Regions from separate parts of the Homo sapiens genome. Here regions 1, 2, 3, 5, 6 and 7 are each linked to region 4. Evidence: promoter capture Hi-C in human tissues and cell types (Jung and others, 2019). All regions are on one chromosome and are shown on one strand. The core of a region is centred on a gene start or on the middle of the fragment in contact, and the rest is flanking DNA. Distances in the headings are between cores, read along the strand shown.

Region 1 (2,787 bases), core at 187-2,686, 370 kb after region 4:
AAATGCTCATTGAAGCATTTCGGATAACCTGTACCAACCTCAGGGGATTATAAAGATTAAGTGAATTAATATTTACAAAGCGCTGGTACATAAGTAGTTTTATATATAGGTTTCTGATTTTTTTTTAAAAAAAGTATTTGTTCAAAATTTACGAAGTTCAATTATATGGCCTTCACTGTAAAGATGAAGTCTAGGATATAATCCTGTACTCTAGGTGCTGAAATTCTAGGGGGAGGCATGTACTGGAACCCAGGTATGAATAAAGTAATACGAAAACTTTGAAGAAAGTAGTCAATTCTAATAATGAAAACTGTTTAACCCACTTACAGTTAAAATTGTTTAATGAAAATATCTTCAAATATTGAAAAATGAAATTAATCAGCAGATTTACTAAATGCCTATTTTGTCTGTAGGCCTGTATAATCTACTGTGATTGTTTTGAATAAAGGCATTTGTTAAGAGAGGAGGAAAACAAGACACAGAGCCTGCTCTGTGCCAGGGCCTTTTAAGATTTTCTTACTGAACTTTCTCAATCCTGAAACAAATTTTGAGGTATATATAATCATTCCCATTTTACAAAATAGTTACCTGAGTCTAAAATATGTTAAGGCAGAGAGAAATCTGAATCCAGATCAAATTCTCACCCTCAAAGCCAATTTTACTTTCGCCAAGCCAGTAGTTTTCAAACTTTATTAGCAGAAACCTAGCTTTAAAACAAAATCATGCATGTTAAATGTATTATTTTATTAGGGTAAATATAAGTTATAATTATAATTTTTAAAACACAGTCATAACAGTAAATATTTACTTGTTGTAAAGTCAATCAATGAGAATAATGTGGGTATAGTGATTAACATAGAATTTGGAAATCAAAGCTTATGGAAGTTAGTCACAGTTATGCTAGTCTCAGAGCTTGATTTATTTTTTTGTTATTGTTACATAGTATTAAGAAAACCCTGCATTGCACAGTTGTAAATTTTAAAAGAGTTTTAACAGTTCACCCTATAAACCAGGCTATTCTTCAACTAAGCTGATATAGAAGCTTGAATGACATGAGGAGGAATTAACTTCTCTTAAGTTCTTTTCATAAAAACAATTATTTATCAAGTCCCTCCTTTATGTTAGGCATGGGGCTGGATGCCAGGGATTCCATGGTGCTCATGACAGATGTGATTCTTGGCCTCCAGATGAGTGCTTTGAAAGGGGAATAACCAGGTTAAGAACATTTACTGGAGTAGACCATTTTCAAGAACATTTACTGGAGTTGACCATTTACACGGATGACTTTTTCCCATAAATACAAATGTATAGGGTCTAGTTAACCTCTTATGGAAAGATTTCTTTCCGTTGAATTTATATTCACAGGTCATAGATTCTGGGCATCAGATATAGCCTGACTGGAATTGTTGGAAGACTAAAACCAGCCAGGCACAGTGGCTCACGCCTGTAGTCCCAGTACTTTGGGAGGCCGAGGTGGGTGGATCACTTGAGCCCAGGAGTTCAAGACCAACCTGGGCAACATAGGAAGACCCTGCCTCTACAAAACTTAAAAAAAAAAAAAAAATTAGCTGGGTGTGGTGGTATAGGCATATGGTCCCAGCTACTCGGGAGGCTGAGGTACGAGGATCGCTTGAGCCTGGCAGGTTGAGGTTGCAGTGAGCCATGATTGCACCACTGTACTCTATCCTGGGTGACAGAGTAGGACCCTGTCTTCAAAGGAAAAAAAGACTAAAACCAATATTTTCTCCAACTACTCTCCTTTACTCACTTAGCACTCAATCTCTGCTACAGTTTTAGTAACCCTGGGCACTAGACTAATTACTTTAGTAGCTGGGGACTAGCTCACTTTCTCGTTTGGGTAAGTGCCAGGCCAATAATAATCTTGAGATTTTTAAGGATTTATTTTGAACTCTTTCAGACTTCAGCTGTAATTTATGAAGCACTGAAGGGACTACATCCATCCGAGTGATAGAAACTCCAGGCTGAAGCTGTTCAAGCAATCCTAACTCGTCTTATGTATCAATAACCCCAGTACCTGGCACTGAGCAATATCAAAAATTGGAGAGAATAAACTGTGGATATATATTTTTAAAATTTAGCTCACTAGGATAAGAGAATCTGATTGCAGACTTTATGTTCTTTGGACTTTAATTTGTAAAGTGATTGAATATTTGGACTTAAATTTCTCTCCAGGAATTTGAAAATGGTAGGGAGTTTGTATTCAAACTTAGGGCATCTTTATGTTGACAGTCGATTAAATATCTTAATCAGGTTGTTTGATCTCTACAACCTGTTATGCTGTCTTTTAGAAACATGACTATATATAATTTGAAATGGGGAATAGGAAATAGATTTTGAGCCTTGGCTACAGTATAGTCTTGGAGCTAATTTCATGGATGTACAGGTGTCATTAATCTCAGAGCTTGTGAGGGGGAAATCCACACTGTCTATAGTGATCCCATGGTGACTGCCAAAGCAGCATTAGTTGGCCCTGGGAGAATGGCCAGTAGGAGTAAGACTGTCTTGACAGGTTGCTGATCTCTTCTGAGGGCAACAGCCACACTGCAGGAGGAAAACAAACAGCTGAGAGTGGTGGCCTAAAAAGGTGCTAGTCAGATTTCCTGTGGAGGGGAGCACAGTTGACTCAAAACCCCAAATGCCACCCCTCTGGATCCAGCACCATGTGCGGTGCTGCCAAATTCTTCCAGGATGGTCCCAGCCAACCAATGCTGAGCCTGGTGGGAGTAGTGGTACAGGGTCCATTCCTGCCTGATGTGAAACTTTGCT
Region 2 (2,983 bases), core at 126-2,625, 460 kb after region 4:
GAGTGATGGATGTGCAACATTATGAATGTATTTAATACCACTGAACTGTATACTAAAAAAGAATGAAGATAGTAAATTTTATGTCATGTGTATTTTACCATAAAAATAAAACTTTTAAAAATAGGTATATACACAAAGTTGTTAACAGTGATTACTTTTGGGTAGTGAGCTTACAGCTGATTTTACCTTCCTATTTTTGACTATCAGTATTTTCAAATTTTCACATATTTTTATAATTAAATGTTTCTTACCTGTATAATAAAAAAGAAATCTAAAAATGTTTAATTAAAGAAAGAAAGCTGGAGTGGCTATATTAAAGGCACAAAGAGACGACTTCAGATCAAGGAATAGTACCAGGAAAATGTATAACATTATATAATAATAAAGAAGTCAATTAATCAAGAAGACCTATCAGCTTCTAGCTAATAGTAGACAGCTGAATGTGTATGTGCTTAAAGATAACAGAGCTTCAAAATACATGAAGCAAAAACTGATAGAATATACAGAAGAAATAAATAAGACTACAATTATAGTTGGAGATTTTTAACACTCCTCTCTGAGGAAGAATCAGTAAGAATATAGAACTAAGTATGTGGAACACATAATGGCATTATCAATGAAACTAATCTAACTGACAATTCAAGAACTCCATACAAGAGCAGAATACACCTTCAATTCAAATCTAAATGAATCCTTCACCATACAGACCATACTCTCAGCCATAAAACAAACCTTAACAAATTAAAAAAGATAAAAACCATAGAGTAATATTCTCTGACCAAAATAGAAATAAACTAAAAATAAATTTAAAAATCTGGAAAATTGTGACACATTTAGAAACAACACACTTCTAAATAAGCCAAAGATCAAAGAAATAGTCACAAGGAAAATTGAAAAAAGTTGTGAATTGAATAAAAATGAAAATATAACAAGTCAAAATTTGTGCAATGCAGCTAAAGGATGCTTGAAGGGAAATTTATAGCATTAAATGCTTATACTAAGAAAGAAAAAATGTCTCTAATCAATGTTCCAAGCTTCCCTCCTAGGACACTAACGAATAGTAAATTAAACCTAAAGAGAGAGAAGGAAATAATAAAGATACAAATATCAATAACATGCAAAATAGAAAAACAAAGGAAAAAATCCATAAAGCCCAAAAGCTATTTCTCAGACAATATCAATAAATATGATAAATCTCTAGCCAGACAGACCAAGAAAAAGAAACAACATATATCAAGAATGAAAGAGAAGACATCACTATAGTTCCTACAGACATTTTAAAAAATAATAAGGGAATATTTAGAAGATAAGAGACTGCCAATAAATTTGACAACTTAGATAAAATAATAAATTCCTGGAAAATCTAAAAATACCAAAACTCACTCAAGAACTATATAACTTGAACAGCCATATATCTACTAAAGATATAGAATTTATTAAAGAATATTATATATATTCACATGTATAAACACTTGTGGTTTTACTTCCAAGAATTAACAAGTATTCTTTTTTATGTTAAAGGTGTTTTAAATCAAACTTACTACTATAATTGCCACTTTATTATCTTACAGACACTGTCAAAATTACCCTGGCCGAAGGTTAGTAGGTCAAATAAAAACCATCAAGTTCTTTTATGGAAAAATAAAAGAATTTGTCATTAAAACTATTCCACAGAAAACCCCAAGGACTAGGCAGCTTCAGTGGGCAATTTCTATCAAATACATTTGAGGACGACATAATATCAATTCTATGCAAACTCTCCAGAAAACAGATGAGGAGGAAACATGTCCCCAGTCATTTCATGAAACCAGCATTATTCTGATATTAAAGTTGCAAAAGACATGGCAAGTAATAAAAATTACTGACTAGTATACTTTATCAACATCTCAGTAAAAATCCTTTTACAAATTGGCAAATTGAATCTAGCCATGCACAAAAAACATATGTCATGACAAGTGAGCTTAATCCTAAAAAGGCAATGTCAATTTGACATTGGAAAAACAAATCAATTTAATTTACCATAATAACAAACTATACTAAGTAAAATCCACAAGATTTTCTCAAAAAATAAGAAAAATATTGTTAAAAGTCAATATCCATTCCTAAAAAAAATTTCTCAGCAAACTAAGAATAGAAAATTTCCTAAACTCTGATAAAGACCATCTTACAAAACCTGAAGTTAACATCATACTTAATGGTAAAAGACTGAATGTTTCCCCCTAATATATGAAATAATGTAGGGGTATTTGTTTGAATCGTTTCAATTCCACAGTGTACTAGACAACCTAGCCAGTGCAACAAGGCAAGTAAAAGAAATAATAGGCATACAGATGAAAAAGGAAGAACTAAAATTGTGTTTATTTGAAGATGACAATATTGTTTCATAGGAAACCCTAAGGAATCTACAAAAAAGCTACTACAATTAATAACTTGAGTGTTGCAATGTCACAAGATAAAAATATAAATCCACAAAAATTAATTGCATTTCAGTATTCAATGGTAACAAACAATTGGAAATCAAAATGAAAAAAGCTACCATTTATAGTAGTATCAAAAATTTAGGTACAAATTTATTAAAATATTTCACTAAAAATCCATTACTGACAGAAGTTAAAGAAAACCTAAATAAAAGAGGTAATATTATTTAACTTGTAGCTTAGAAGAGACACAAGACTTCAGATATCAATTCCCCCTATATTGGTCCATAGATTCAACCCAATCTCATTCATAATCTGATTTTTTTGATAAATTGAAAAAGTTGATTCTAAAATTTATACGGGAAATGCAGAGGATCTAGAATAGCCAAAACAAATTTGGAAAAGAAGTACAAATTGGAGGCTTCACACTACTTTAAGACCTAATATAGTCACAATAACCAAGACATTGTGGGATTGGTGTTAGGATAGACCTATTTATCAATGAAACAGAATGAAGTCAACAAATAGAATCATACATATATAGTTGATTGATTTGCAACAAAGTG
Region 3 (2,700 bases), core at 52-2,551, 310 kb after region 4:
GATACCACTTGGAAATGTGTGCACGGTCCCCCGAAGACCTGTGTAAGGATGCTTATGGCAGCACTATTCGAGAGCGTTCAACAGAGCCCATTAACAACAGAATGGATACACACTGATAATGGTTTTGCTGTCCCCACCCACATCTCATCTTGAATTGTAGTTCCCATAATCCCCACATGTCATGGGAGGGACCTAGTGGGAGGTAACTGAATCATGGGGACGGTTTCCGCCATGCTGTTCTCGTGCCAGTGAGTGAATGCTCACCAGATCTGACGGTTTTATAAGGGGCTTTTCCCCTCCTTTGCTCTGCACTTCTCCTTGCTGCTGCCATGTGAAGGACATGTTTGCTTCCCCTTCTGCTCTGATTGTAAGTTTCCTGAGACCTCCCCAGCCATGCTAAACTGTGAGTCAATTAAATCTCTTTCCTTTATAAATCACCCAGTCTCAAGTATGTCTTTATTAGCAGTGTGGGAACGGACTAATACACACACTATAGTCCTTCCGCACGATGACACAGCAGAGAGAACAAACCACTACTCGCCACAACATAGGTGAATCTCACAAACATAATGTTGAGCAAAAGAAGTCAGACAGGAAAGAGAAAATATGTCATCATCCATTTACATGAAGTTTACAAGTAAGCCAGTTTAGACTATGGAGATAGAGGTCAAGAAAGCAGTTACCCTTGGGTGGGAGGCAGACAAGGAGGAAGAAGTCACAGGGTTGCTCTGGGGAGGCCGAAATGCTGTGATTCTTGCTCTGGTCCTGGCTAAAGAGAAATTTCATCTAGCTGTACCCTAACTATTGGCATGCTTTTCTCTCTCTATGCTATACTTTAGTAAAGTGTAAAACATTTCAGATAGTTGCATAAAATGAGATTTAAAAATGGACAGTAATGAAGATCATGAGAACTGTTTTCTATGCTATGGGCATAGAATATTTAGTGCAAATTTCGAGTACTTTGTATTGGTGATATGAAAGAATTACTGTTAAATTACAGCCATTAAAAGTTATAAAAGAAAATTGGTACTGACATTACCATCTCCACACCATTTTTTTCAGCAAAGGTATTTGGTACTTTTATTCTAGATAATGTTTTTAATGTAAGTTTTTGAGGCTGTTTTATACTATTTGATTGAGGGTATAGTAAGACCAACTTATTGATATCTTTATCCCAAATATCACAGGTACAGTGGCGAGCAAGTCAGATGATACAACTGCTATCTTCCAAACCTTTCAATGGTCCCACCTCACTCACAGTCAAAAGTTAAGTGCAAAGTGGCCCCAAGGCCCACAAAGCTCTGCTTGGCCGTCATGCCCTCCCCTTATTTACTGGGCTTTGGGCACAGTAGACTCCAGCAAGCCAGGCATACAGTAACCCCAGGGCCTTTGTACCGGTTGCCTTGTCTTCTGGCTCTCCTTCTGAACGTTCTTCCAGATGAAGGCAAGCTTTGTTTCCTCACCTCTTTCCGTTTTTGTTTAAATGTCACTATATTAGTTCATTTTCACACACTATAAAGACATACCTGAGACTGGGTAATTTATAAAGAAAAGAGGTTTAATTGACTCACAGTTCCACATGGCTGGGGAGGCCTCAGGAAACTTACAATCATGGCAAAAGGGGAAGTAGGCACGCCTTATTATACTTGGTGGCAGGTGAGAGACAGCCAGCAAGAGCAGGGAAAACTGCTTTATAAAACCATCAGATTTGGTGAGGACTCACTCACTATCATGAGAACAGCATGGGGGAAACCACCCCCATGATCCAATCCCCTCCCTCCCTCAACACGTGGGGATTATAATTCGAGATGAGATTTGGGTGGGGACACAGAGCCAAACCATACAAGTCACTGTCTCTGTGAGTCCCTTCCTGACCACCAGCCATCCCCACCCTCCTCTGCTTTTCCTCCTCATGGCACTTACCTTTCATTACACTATATTATTTAGTTACTTATATTATCTCTTTCCATTAGAATGTAAACTCCATGAATAAATGAATTTTTGTCTATTTTGTTCACTGCTTATGTCCTTAGTGCCTAGAAAAGGACTTGGCAGGTAGCAGAAACTTAGTATTCCAAGAACGCAAGGGTGAAGGAATTAATGAATTTACAAAACTCGCTTTGAATCCCATATGGTGTGAAGCAAACTAGAAATGCAGGCAACATCCAGGTCAATAAAACTCAGTTGTAGGAATTCCTCAAGCCAAGTTTAAAGTCAGATCAGGACTAAAGAAAGGGGGAAAGGATTATTTCCCTGAATATTCCCTGCCTTCAGTCTCCCTGCATTCTTATTTGGGTGCGCCAGCTCACTCTTTCATTCACGCTAAACAATACCGGTGCACCTACTATGCGCTAGGCTGTGCTGGTTGCAGGATCCCTGGTTAAGTGGCACCAGGATGAAAGATGCTGAAGGATAAGAATCATTTTTAAGGCTTAAGCATTACTGGCATTATCTCAGAACATCATCACCGAAACCATCACAAGAAACTACTATCTCCTAATTTTATATCCTAATTTTACAAAGAGCCTTTCTGAGGTTAAGTGACTTCCCCAATTTATCGGCGCCAGGAAGTGGTAGAACAGGGGTCTGCACTAGCCTGCTGGGCTCCAGCCTGCACTCTGCTTTCTCCAGTGAGGGATGAGACTTCAGCCAGAGCTCATCAGGACGTGAGTGTTTAAACCAAATCACAAAAGCACAGAC
Region 4 (2,930 bases), core at 207-2,706:
GATCCGTAGGATGTCCCCCGGGTTTGGGGCGCGCCCCGAGGCGCAGACCCTCTTTGGCGACTCCACACAATATGCAGCCCGCCTGCAAGCAGCCGCTGCAGCCGAGGGGCGCGCCTGGCTGATGTGTGGTTGAATGGAGAGCGGCCCAACCCTCCTCCTTCCTCCTCTTCTTCTCCCCGCCCTGACACCCGGGCCTCAAACTTCAACCAAAGCCCGTGCCCTTTTCAATTTACCCCCCTCGATCAAAATGAGCCATTCTTGTCTGTCCTCCGCGGCGGCCCATTGTCTGGCGTGATAGGTTTGCAGATTTGACAGCTGGGCGCACGCAGATTTGATTCAAACTCGGTCTCCCCGAGAGATGAACTTGGACATCAGCAAAGATCCCGAGCACTGCCGGCTGGCTCCTAGACCGGTCTCCCGACCCAGTGTAGACTTCGGTGCCCCGGGCGCCCCCCGGCGTGCGGGAAGGGGAGCGTGTGTCAGGCGTGGGGGGCGGGGGGTGAGCAGCACGACTGGGAACCAGCGGTCCCAGGGGTTGGGGCGAAGGGCTGTGTACATGTTAGGCTTTTTTTGTTGTTGTTAATTTACTCTCGAAACAGCCAAAATGGAGGTCAGCTTATAAATTTTCTAAAGCCAGGTCTGGCCGGGTTTAAATGCAGTGGGCTGGGGGCTCCGCTTTTGTCTCCTTGTCGGAGCTCCAGGAGAGAGGTAGAGACTGCGTGTGCATGTGTGCGTGTGAGTGTGAGTGTGCACGCGCTGGCGTGGACGAACGGATGGGCGCATCCCAGGATCGCCGCTCCAGCGTCCTGGGTCTGAGTGTGTCTTGAAAGCACCAAGTCTTGAATCACAGCCACTAGTGACGTGGGGGAAAACTTTGTGTTCCGAAGAAGGGTCTGGCTCGATTGCCCTAAGAAGAAAGAGCCCTTGTGCCCGTGTATGTGTGTGTGTGTGTCTGTGTGTGTGTGTGAGAGAGAGAGAGAGAGAGAGAGACAGAGAGAGAGAGAGAGAGAGAGAGTGTGTGTGTCTGGCAGCACCCGCGGCCGGCTGCAGAACACTGCGTGTCCTGTGCGCGAGTACGGGTCCGGCCGCGGGTCCCACCGCAAGCGGGCGTGTGCAGCTGCGGCTGCCTGGCGGGCGAGCTTAGGAGGGAGCTGGAGCTGCGGAGCGGCGGGAACAGGAGCAGGCCGAGGGTCCTCTGGCCAGAAGAAATCTGGCCTCGGAACACGCCATTCTCCGCGCCGCTTCCAATAACCACTAACATCCCTAACGAGCATCCGAGCCGAGGGCTCTGCTCGGAAATCGTCCTGGCCCAACTCGGCCCTTCGAGCTCTCGAAGATTACCGCATCTATTTTTTTTTCTTTTTTTTCTTTTCCTAGCGCAGATAAAGTGAGCCCGGAAAGGGAAGGAGGGGGCGGGGACACCATTGCCCTGAAAGAATAAATAAGTAAATAAACAAACTGGCTCCTCGCCGCAGCTGGACGCGGTCGGTTGAGTCCAGGTTGGTGGCATTTGGAGTTTTTTTCGTTCTGTTTGGGAACCCATTGCCGCTTCCCGTCCCTCTTCCCCACTCCTTCTTCCCCCCTCCTCCGGCCACCCCTTTCTTTTTGCTGGCGTCTCCCAACTTTAGGGCCCGGGGGGCGCTCGTGGCGCCGGGCTGCACCTGCCGGGGCACGCCGGGACTGCGGGCCGGCGCGCTCGCCCTGGGCTGGGGTGCGGAAGCGCCCGAGTCCTGGGCACCGGGCGAGAGTGTGAGAGGAGCGGACGCCCAGGAGGGAGCCGAGGACGCGCGGCGGGTAGGGGGTAGGGGCGCAGGAACCGGGTTTCAGCCCCAGTCGGGACATCGGTTCCCCCTGGCTTGGCGGCCTCTGGAGGGAGACGAGTCCCGGGGAGAAGGAGGGCGGCGACTGGGGCTAGGGATTGGCGATCGGAGTGGGGAGGGCCGGCGGCTGAGCGAGCTCGCTGGCTGACGCGAGGAGGGGGAGGCCAACTTCCCGGGAGAAGGGGCTCTTTCGGCGCCAGGGCTGGCTAGGGAGCTGCCGCCGCCGCCACCGAGGGCTCGGACTCCAGGCAGCTGCAGGCTCCGCTCGCGACGCTCGGAAAGTACCGTTTATTTATTTATTTGCTTGCGTTCAGCGTCTCGGGTTGAACCCAACAGACACCCCCTTGGACTTTAGGAACCCTCTTCAGACCTCTCCAGCCCTCACCTCCATCCCCGTGTCAGCGGCCCCTGGAAAACACGCACATGCACCCCGACCTGGGTGGGGGTGGGTCCTCACCCCGGTGTTGGAAATTCCCCAAAGGCGGGAACGGGGGAGGGGAGAGGGTTCTGTGGGGGGAGTCTCCGGCGCTCTCCGCTCTCATCTCAAAGCGCGCCCTCCCTTCCAGGTTGGGTCGGACCTGAACCCCTAAAAGCGGAACCGCCTCCCGCCCTCGCCATCCCGGAGCTGAGTCGCCGGCGGCGGTGGCTGCTGCCAGACCCGGAGTTTCCTCTTTCACTGGATGGAGCTGAACTTTGGGCGGCCAGAGCAGCACAGCTGTCCGGGGATCGCTGCACGCTGAGCTCCCTCGGCAAGACCCAGCGGCGGCTCGGGATTTTTTTGGGGGGGCGGGGACCAGCCCCGCGCCGGCACCATGTTCCTGGCGACCCTGTACTTCGCGCTGCCGCTCTTGGGTAAGTCGAGGCCCGCCGCGGGCTTTCTTACCCTCTGAGTCTTTCCTAGGGTCGCTTGCAGCAGCCCACCCCGCCCTCCGCACCAAAATTGGGGCGCGGGTGTGGTGGATGTGGAAGGAAGAAGTGTCTTTTTGGGGAATGGGATCGCGAATCCCCGGGTTAGGGAGGCGGTGGCGGCGCGGCGCTGCCTGAAGCTTTTCGGGCTTGGTTTTGATTTCCTGTGGTTTTTAATGACCCAACTTGGCGGGGGACTAAGAA
Region 5 (3,003 bases), core at 481-2,980, 400 kb after region 4:
GCACAAAAGTTCTCTGGTTTTTGGCTTGGAACCATAAGGCAGAAAATGTACTGTACTATGCTTCTAATTGTCTACTATTCCTTTTAAAGGGAAAACCATTCTAGATAAATTGTTTGGCTGAAATGCTAGAAATGTTTTAAACAGAAAAAATGTTTCCTTTCCTGGAACTGTCACAACATTTCTCTGATTAAAACATGGTAGATTTATAGTTAAGAGAATATTCAGAGAACAAAAGGTTGCAATTTAGTTTACTAACAACTTAAAAACACAAATTACTAAAAAATGCTTTAAAATTATTTTTCAATGTACACGACCTTAGCAATGAATTAACTATGGTTATCACTGTCAGATCTCTATAATTATACAGTAATCATTCATTCATCAAATCTTAATTGAGCACACACTGAATTCTATGTCTATTTACATATGAATCCCTTAACCCTTTCCCAATCTGGAGATTTCACTTCAGAGAGCCTCAAAAATATGAAACACAATTACAGATCAGGGAATAGGTGGAAAAGACTCAGATAAGCTTCTGAGCAGCAAAGAAAATGCCTGTTATAAAGTTCCTACATTTTGCTAGGTATGTGGGTATCTTCATGTTGTTATCAAAATAAATATGAATTAAATAGAATAACAAAAGACTTGGTGACATGAAGGAAGAGCATATATTGTCTGTCAGGTACTGAATTAAGTATATTACAGACATTATCTCATTTGAGCCTTTCACAATCCCCAAGAGATAAGTAGTATTAGCCCCATTGTACAGAATGAAAAATTAAAGCTGAGAAAGGGTAAGTGTCTTCCCAGGATAAAACACCCAAGAAGTGGTCCACATTCATCTGACTGCAAATTGTATGTTGTGATGTTCTGACCATTAAATATGCTGCCTTTTTCATTTAGCGTGTGTCTGTAGATTCTGAGCTGGGTAATCTGAGGACAATTTGTAATTACAGCCATTCCAGGTTCCAGTTTCACCTTGCTCCAAAGCTTAAACCAAATACCTACTTCCGACTTCAAGATTCCCAGTATTTGATCTCCTACTTTGCCTTTCAGTGTCCTTGACACTCATCCTTTTAGTCTTTGCCTGGCTAATTCCCAGTCATCCTTCAAAGTTTCTGCTAGAATATTATTTACTCAGGAACACCATTTTTGACTGTGAAATCTAAGTGGAGAACCCTTGTTTTACCTCCATGCCACTCTATATTTCCCTTTACTGCAATGATCACAATTTGTAACTAAGTATGTATTTGTATAATTATTTGTTTGATGACTATCTCCCACACCAGACTATAAGCTCTATAAGGGCTGGGAACATACCTGTTAGGTTCTTTGCTCAGCCAACACCTAGTAAGTGCTCAATACATACAAGTAAAACAAATGACCTATGCAAAGCTTTCAGCACGGAAGTAGGTACTCAATGCACATAAGTAATATTATTTCATTAATGAATGGACTACTTAGATCCTTGAATCTCTATCCTCATTTCATGTTCTATTTTGTCTCAGAGACTGATGTCTTAGTTTGGGGAATTTCTTTGGGAGTCCCCTTCCCGTTCTTAGAAAAAGTGCCCCTGAATTTGTTTCTCCACTTGTCCCTCAGGATAACTTATCCACAGAATGGTATCTGATCTGGCCAGTCCCTCTGGACTGCCTCCCCAAATTGGGCAATGACAGCAAGCTTCAATTGTCTAAATATTTTATTTATTTAGGTTACCTAATTTTAATGATGCCAGATAAATGTGGCCTTGCCTACTAAATCCAACAGCCTGCCAACTGTATTCAACCAGAAAAGATCTCTCAAATCAACTTACATTAAAAACTTCGCTATTAACATAAAAATCTCTTTAATGAGTTCACTGGTAGAGATGTAGAATGCTGAGATGCACAAAATAATAAATGATTAGTCAATTTAATTCAATTTGTCACCAAGTCCTATCAATTTCCACTTTCCAATAACTTTTGAATTCATCAGAGACTCTCTTTTTCTGCTGCAATCTAGACCCTCACCTGCCTGGATTACTGTAATTTTTCCTAGCTGATCTTTAGCTTCTGATCCCACTCTTTAACAGCTGAGTTTGTATACTCCAGAAAAGTAAATGTCCTCAAAACTGTGCATTTAAAGCTTGGATCCCTGCTCAGAAATCCAAAATGGTTTCCCAATTCCTACCAGATCAAATTCAAGCTCATCTTGGAAGTAAGGGCCTTCCTGGCATTTTCGATCTTTCTTAGCAACCTCCCACTTCCAAAGAACTCTGATTTCTGAGTCTCCTTTGCTCATGTGACTCTCCACTTAGACTGTGCTTCTCCACCTCTGCTGCCTGTCCAGGTTTCTATCACTTGGAAATCTCAGGTTCTGCTGACTCCATTTAACTTTTAGTAAGTGCTCTTTCTCTCTCACCTACATTTTTATCTTTTGTAGAAATGGAAGATACCCATATTATCTATTATCTGCCTGAAGAGATTGTAGTTTCCTTCAGAGAAGTGATTATCTAAATGTTCTTTTGTATTCCTACAGTTTGTGTATAATTAACATTGATTTCTTTCTCTGATAGTGCTTAGTACTTGAGAAACAAACTCAAGAAACACCTGTAAAGAAAAACAATATTTTATAAATTCTCAAGTTGTTATTGGATGGCAACCTAAGACAAGGCAGGGACCTGATTACCAGTAGGTGATGCTATCTCCTTCAATTAGTATTGGTCAGTGTGAGAACGGAAACTGCAATGGAGAGGCAGGGCAATCAGGGAGGTCAGCTTCAAGCTGAAAGGACTCAGTCCAGTGAGCTCAAGGCTCCTCCAGCTATGGATGCTGCTTTCTAAGAAAGCCATAGAGTAAAGCCCAGTTGTGGCAGAAGACGTCACTGACTGCCAGAAAAGGCAACAGATCTTCTCCAGCAGGCTGTCAGAAGGGCATCAACCATGACTTTCCCCAAGTTGACAAGCATGAAGAGCTGTGGAGGAGACATGAAGATGGAAACAGTGAAAGAGGGGAGAGTGGTGGT
Region 6 (2,775 bases), core at 80-2,579, 500 kb after region 4:
CATTGGACAGAATGTAGTTACTCAAAATATATTACTTTTAAAATAAGTTTTTTAATGGACATCTCATCAAAAGCAGGATTTATTATTTTCTAAAGTATAATCTTAAAAATTAACAGCTGATCATTCAAAACCTCAATGGTATTCATTTCTTAGCTAATGTCTTATGACTATTAGTCAACGTCACAATAGTCATTCTTTTATTTAACTTCCTTTGATGCCTGTGGGATGGGGGTGAGAAGAAGAAAAGACAGCTTTACATAAAAAAAAAAACAAACCATGACTTCACTAACTCCAACTATAACTGAGTGAAACGTTAGCAAGAAGTGTTATAAGTGCTAGCTAATCTTGAAAAAAAAATAAGACAAAATATTCTGGGGCATTCTGTCAGTGGTAGGAATTATGTGATACTAATTATAGTGCTGTGTCAACAAAAGATGAAGAGGGAGATTTTAATAGAGAATACGTATCTTATTGTTGGACGGTACTAAAGTTGAAACATATGCTAAGAGGAAATAAATATTGGCTTAAACAGCAGCATACTCAAGTTTGAATTGGAATGTAAAAACTTCTTCTACCCAGAAGTGTTTTTTATAGCTTAGGTGATCAAGACTCTTATAGGCTTAATTTCCCTATTATCTGGGCCCTCAGAGCACCTTGCCCAAAGCCACCCCTAGCTTTCACTAATCTAATTTTTTTTTTTTTTTTTTTTTTTTTTTTTGAGATGGAGTCTTGCTCTTGTCGCCCAGGCTGGAGTGCAGTGGTGTGATCTCGGCTCACCGCAACTTCCGTGGCCTGGGTTAAGCTTCTTCTGCCTCAGCCTCTTGAGTAGCTGGGATTACAGGTGCCTGCCATCATGCCTGGCTAATTTTTGTACTTTTAGTAGAGACGGGGTTTCGCCACATTGGCCAGGCTGGTCTCAAACTCCTGACCTCAGGTGATCTGCCCGCCTCGGCCTCCCAAAGTGAATCTACTTTTAGTGTTTGGCACAACCAGGTATTATCCACACTCATCCTAACTCCACACCTGGGGCTGGGGAAATTATTGGTTATTCTAGGATGAGTGCTGGTTTGGGGTGGCTATTAGAGAGCAGTCTTTGGCTATTTTCAGCTAGATGATTCATAAGTTAGGAATAGAGAGTGAAGATTAGGCTCTTGAACCTCAGGTTTAAGGGAGAGGTCCAAATCTGAAATGATAATGTGTAACCTCATAAATCCTATACTTTCCCATAGAAGATCACACAAAAAGGGAGGGAGATAGGAACAAATAGTTAAATTTAGTGATTTGCAAAGCCTCCAATTAACCCAAAAAGAATTTGGGTTTGAATTTTTGGTATTAATATTTGTGTTGAGCATTTACAAGCCAAAATATTTAGGTAATCTGTAACGAAACACTTTCATTAACTAAGTTTGGAATTCACACAGTTCACTACCATCAAATAAAATGAGGGCTGATTTCATGAGCATGTGATCTGTGCAGGTGCAGGGGTCCCCAGTCTTAGAAGGGCTCTAAGCTTGGCTGAATGCTCTGCTGAAATTCTTAATAATTTGTTTAATAAGTGGCTCATACTTACATTTTGTACCATAGATTACGTAGCCATACCTGAATAAGATCCATTATGACTGGGCTATATCTTATATATTACTAGTGAGACAGAATAAAATAAATATTAAGCAAAAATGAGGTGTTGGTTAGCATAAGCTATATAGTAATCTTTTTTAAACACCGTATTTTCCTGAGGCCTGAACTTCCCAAAGCAATTTTCTTGTGCTCCCTTTGTAGTCCAGATAGGAAATAACTTCATGTAGGAAGATTTTTACTCCTCTGGGCATATGAATTTTAAGGGCAACTGAGGAATGAACTCAATGAAGAAATCTGAAAGGAATGAATTGCTAATGGTAGACATTTAGGAGAAATTTTTTGGGAATGGATTTTTTGCCACTTTTCCTTTTATATACAATGTGCACTTCCCTTTAATATTTGAGCTGACAACTGTTAAAAAGAGTCATTCTCCCTGCTCTTGCTCCCTATTGCAGTTTCATTTCTCATAGTAAAGTCCCTCTTTTTCTGCTTCCGTAGTAGTTTTCTTCACTAAAATTTCTCTAATGTTCTTTGTATAAAGAGGGTAGCAAGAAAACGCCTCCCCAATCAAATATCAATTGAAACCGCCTATTGGCTGTGGTTGATTTTTGCCTCAGTCAGTAGTCACAATTTCCAAGACAATTTCCCTCCATGCTCTTTTATACCACCCCCAAATTTCTCTGCTCACAGCATTATGAATCTCAGTACAGCTGAATCATGCAGGTCTGATTTAGCCTGCAAAAATGTCAGTCAAAGCAAGCAAGATGTACTCTTTGGCCTTGAGTGCTCTAAGCTGCTATGAATCACAGGTTTAGTTTTTGCCAAATGAAAAGCAATTTCACTTGCAAAAAATATCTGTAGGGATACTTATGGCTTTTAGCTTACAGGGAAAATGTACTTAAATTGTCCAGGGAAAAGGAGAGTTTGTGTAATACACACACACACACACACACACACACACACACACAGACAGAGTATATATTTTGTATATTTATACAGTATATATATATATACAGAATATTGAATATATATTCAATCTTTTATGAAACCAGTTAAAAGCTAGCATTTACTGCATTTGCTTTTCATTAAAATCTTTTTCATTTTTGAGCTTCATCTAACAGGTGTTAACCATTAGACTAATAAATTGCTTCTTCAAATGGACCATGTCAATGAGTTGATACCTAATAAAGTTCACGT
Region 7 (3,080 bases), core at 492-2,991, 440 kb after region 4:
TTCTACACGTAGACATCCCATTGGAGAACAAACAAGGAAGATGCTTTGCTAATACAGATTCCAAATCCGACAACAGCTGCCTGTCTGTTGGCAATCTCATTCTATTCAAAACAAGTAGAAACTGATCATATTACCTTACCAGAGCAAAATGGTAAAGGGAACATTCCAATAAAATATAGAGGTTTGCCTAGAGACAGGCAAACAAACTTTGCAAACAAGGTGGAAGAGTCTGAGAGGCAAGGGAGAAGTAGGCGATTGGGTCAGAAAAGAAGAGTTGTTGAGCCTTATGGATTCAGACATATATACTAAACTTAGGGAAGTGGGTTTCAAAAAGTTCAGAAAAAATTACAGGTATAATCCCACCATTAGAGAATCTAAAATAATATGGCTCAAAGGACAGGAAGCTTTAAAATATCTGATTGAAATCCCAAGTGACAAAATAAAGAAGGAATATTGGAGCCGCAGAAAGTAGTTTCTAATGGGATGCCAGTAGAATAAGAGTATATAACCTCAGACTCACAGGCCTACTGTGGGGAGCAAGTTCTTGGAGTGGACTAAAGGTGTGGGGTATGCAGGGATATGATAGACAACTGGCTCCTGAGAGCATAGCGGTAGCCACCAAATTAACTGTAGATAGAAAGACAGTCGGTCGCTGGCATTCCATTGAGGTATAGCAGTGAAGTGCTCCGGCAGTTGAGCATAGCACAGTCATAGAAAATCATTCCATAAGAAATGTTTGCTCCAAATGATCCCCATCAGGGAATTATCCAGATTATGAACACATATGGTGAAGAGCAGGCCCTGTTGCTTATGTGGCAGACCTTTAAACTAAAGCTTTACAAGATAATGTGCTTTATATTAGAATTCAAAAGAATTAGAACACAGGATTAAATTAACTAGGCAGTTTGTATTGGATAGAGGGTAAACATGTGGGCTCTGGTACATTATTGCCTAGAATTAATTCTTAACTGCCGCTTACTTGGGCATGTTTCTTAACTCTCTGTGCTCAATTTCCTCATCTGTAAAATGGCAATAATTATAATATGTACTTCACTGGATTGTTGTAAGGATAAACTAAATTGATACTTACAAAGCATTTAGAGTACTGCCTGGCGTAGGGCAAGTGTTCAATAAATGTCAGTGATTATTATTTAATTTTATCATTTTAATGGTCTGTTTAACATAGCATACACTCTTACTATAATAATAACTTATTCTTATAACTTAGCCTGTATCTTCTGATTTATGATAGAATAGCCCAGGAGCTTATATGTGGCCCTGGTGTGACACAGCCTTTGAGGAAACTCTTGCAGGCTGGTTCTACATTGAGCACGCTATGCCGTGAAAAGTAAAATCAAGTTTGAATCTTGGCTCTACCACATACAGATCACGTGACTTTAGGTAACTAGACTAATCTTTCTAGGCCCAAATTTCTTCACCTATAAAAGAGAATAATAATAGTGCTAATTACTGATAGGGTTTTTGCAACGAGTAAACTCAATAACTTATTTAAAGCACCTGGTATATTGTATTGCATACAGTAGGCATTCAATGAATGGCAGCTATGTTATGATTTAGCTCCTTTATCTCCTTAAAAATATATTTAACTTTCCTGCTTATTACAAATGAACACCATACATTCTTAGTTTGCTATTTGAATTTCTTTTTTTTTCTCCTCTTACATGTCCTGAAGGAATTTTTAAAAATCTCACTAAAATGAAATACTGGGACATAAAAATACTTGTGATGGTCATTTTCCATTTAGAAGGGAATTACCTTGATACTTCATTGCATCTCTTCACCATAGATCTTTCTACAATGAAACTCTAATTCATGATCTTGTCAGAGCTGGGGCAGGGGATTCAGGTGTGAGTATCAGATAAAAGGTTGAGACAGAGATGCAGGATCAAGAAGGGGTGGCTTTGAAGCAAGCAAGCAAGGACAGCAAAAGTAAAGGGTTAGAGAATGGATAAATCAGTTGTGGGTTTAGAAGTGACATACATAATAATAGTGGCCATTTTTGAATACCTAATGTTTCCTTTGCCTGTGCAAGGAGAGTGGAAGAGTCGAGACTTGGACTCAGACTTATCATAATTCCAATGCCTAATTCTTCCCCACTTTCCATACTAGCATCTGGAAGTAATGACATACCACAGGAGACAGACAGACGCATACGTTGTAGTTCAAGGTCTGAGACTCAGAATCCAGAAAGTCTATGAGATTTGAAGGAATGAAGGGAGTGCAAAAACAATGTCAAATGATGAGCAAGTATAGAAGAAACACAACAGAAAGGGTTTTCTATCCTTCCCTTAGCATTATGCTCTGCTTCTTGGTAACAGAAGCCAATCTTCCCACTTAGGTTGGTGGAGCCTCTGCAGGTGAGAAAAGGTGAGTGGCAGCTCCTGACCAAGATGAGGCCCACAAGGCAGGAGTCAACAGCACGAGTGAATGGTGGGAAAATCCTGGATTCCTCCCTATTTTACCTTGGCTATTTGATAGCTTTCTGACCCAGACTACAGTTTTAATTTGAAAAGTTCCCCTTTCTACAGAAACTAAACAGGTTTCAAAGCAGAAATATAAATTAATTTTGCCAATTCTGGCAACCAATAACCCTCAAATTTTCTATGACCTTAGCTTTTTCCCCCTTTATTTACCTCATAAAAGGGAAGTTAGGACATATTAATCCTGTAAATAGCTCCATATTTTCTGAGATCACTTCAGAAGAAGACTATTTGAATAAGATGAAATTACTATTTGTCGGGGAATTTAATTATACTCTTTTTCTTGGTGTTGGTTTTCAAGTTTCTTAATGCCTTTAGTTAATAGCAGGTAGCTATAGCAATTTTAAAGTATCTCTTTCAGTTATAACACTCTCTGTTGACTTTTTTAAAGCACCTAACAATTGACAAAGCTTTTTAAAAATCTCACTTGAAAAAAAAAAACTCACTTGACTCTTGCAGCTACTATGTGAGGTGGTGAGAGCAGCCTTTACTACCCAAACTTTACAAATGACAAAACTAAGGTTCTGAGAGTTAAGAGACTTGCTTGAGGACACAAAGTAGCTATGTCATGTTAGCCGG

Evidence for each region. Contacts are between HindIII fragments. The study calls those that stand out against the background at their distance.
Region 1: a fragment that was not itself captured here is called in contact with the fragment with the promoter of GFRA1 in region 4 in 4 of the 25 tissues and cell types used here (hippocampus, lymphoblastoid cells, mesendoderm cells and 1 more).
Region 2: a contact is called between a fragment that was not itself captured here and the fragment with the promoter of GFRA1 in region 4, in 4 of the 25 tissues and cell types used here (bladder, dorsolateral prefrontal cortex, heart right ventricle and 1 more).
Region 3: a contact is called between a fragment that was not itself captured here and the fragment with the promoter of GFRA1 in region 4, in 1 of the 25 tissues and cell types used here (thymus).
Region 5: a fragment that was not itself captured here is called in contact with the fragment with the promoter of GFRA1 in region 4 in 3 of the 25 tissues and cell types used here (H1 embryonic stem cells, dorsolateral prefrontal cortex and hippocampus).
Region 6: a fragment that was not itself captured here is called in contact with the fragment with the promoter of GFRA1 in region 4 in 2 of the 25 tissues and cell types used here (IMR-90 fibroblasts and aorta).
Region 7: a fragment that was not itself captured here is called in contact with the fragment with the promoter of GFRA1 in region 4 in 5 of the 25 tissues and cell types used here (IMR-90 fibroblasts, bladder, dorsolateral prefrontal cortex and 2 more).

Annotation. Positions count from the first base shown.
Region 1 is chr10:115,904,165-115,906,951 of GRCh38, reverse strand. The region is part of intron 28 of ATRNL1 (attractin like 1); the gene reads right to left. It overlaps LOC105378497 (a long non-coding RNA gene), which reads left to right. Exons shown (of 4, transcript XR_001747597.3): 4 at 1,919-1,998. Among named protein-coding and RNA genes, the nearest start is that of SNORD158, 290 kb to the left of the region's middle. The HindIII fragment of the contact is 3,357 bases long and covers 1-2,787 here.
Region 2 is chr10:115,809,117-115,812,099 of GRCh38, reverse strand. All of the region lies in intron 27 of ATRNL1 (attractin like 1), which reads right to left. Among named protein-coding and RNA genes, the nearest start is that of SNORD158, 380 kb to the left of the region's middle. The HindIII fragment of the contact is 3,822 bases long and covers 1-2,983 here.
Region 3 is chr10:115,965,459-115,968,158 of GRCh38, reverse strand. No RefSeq gene overlaps it. Among named protein-coding and RNA genes, the nearest start is that of SNORD158, 230 kb to the left of the region's middle. The HindIII fragment of the contact is 4,561 bases long and covers 1-2,700 here.
Region 4 is chr10:116,271,732-116,274,661 of GRCh38, reverse strand. It overlaps GFRA1 (GDNF family receptor alpha 1), which reads left to right and starts at 1,456. Exons shown (of 11, transcript NM_005264.8): 1 at 1,456-1,499; 2 at 2,387-2,672. The coding sequence starts at 2,633. It overlaps LOC107984273 (a long non-coding RNA gene), which reads right to left and starts at 653. Exons shown (of 2, transcript XR_001747598.2): 1 at 1-653. RefSeq lists a silencer at 951-1,245 and an enhancer at 454-1,291. The HindIII fragment of the contact is 12,805 bases long and covers 1-2,930 here.
Region 5 is chr10:115,874,032-115,877,034 of GRCh38, reverse strand. All of the region lies in intron 28 of ATRNL1 (attractin like 1), which reads right to left. Among named protein-coding and RNA genes, the nearest start is that of SNORD158, 320 kb to the left of the region's middle. The HindIII fragment of the contact is 3,414 bases long and covers 24-3,003 here.
Region 6 is chr10:115,772,369-115,775,143 of GRCh38, reverse strand. The region is part of intron 27 of ATRNL1 (attractin like 1); the gene reads right to left. Among named protein-coding and RNA genes, the nearest start is that of SNORD158, 420 kb to the left of the region's middle. The HindIII fragment of the contact is 5,015 bases long and covers 1-2,775 here.
Region 7 is chr10:115,831,630-115,834,709 of GRCh38, reverse strand. All of the region lies in intron 27 of ATRNL1 (attractin like 1), which reads right to left. Among named protein-coding and RNA genes, the nearest start is that of SNORD158, 360 kb to the left of the region's middle. The HindIII fragment of the contact is 3,651 bases long and covers 1-3,080 here.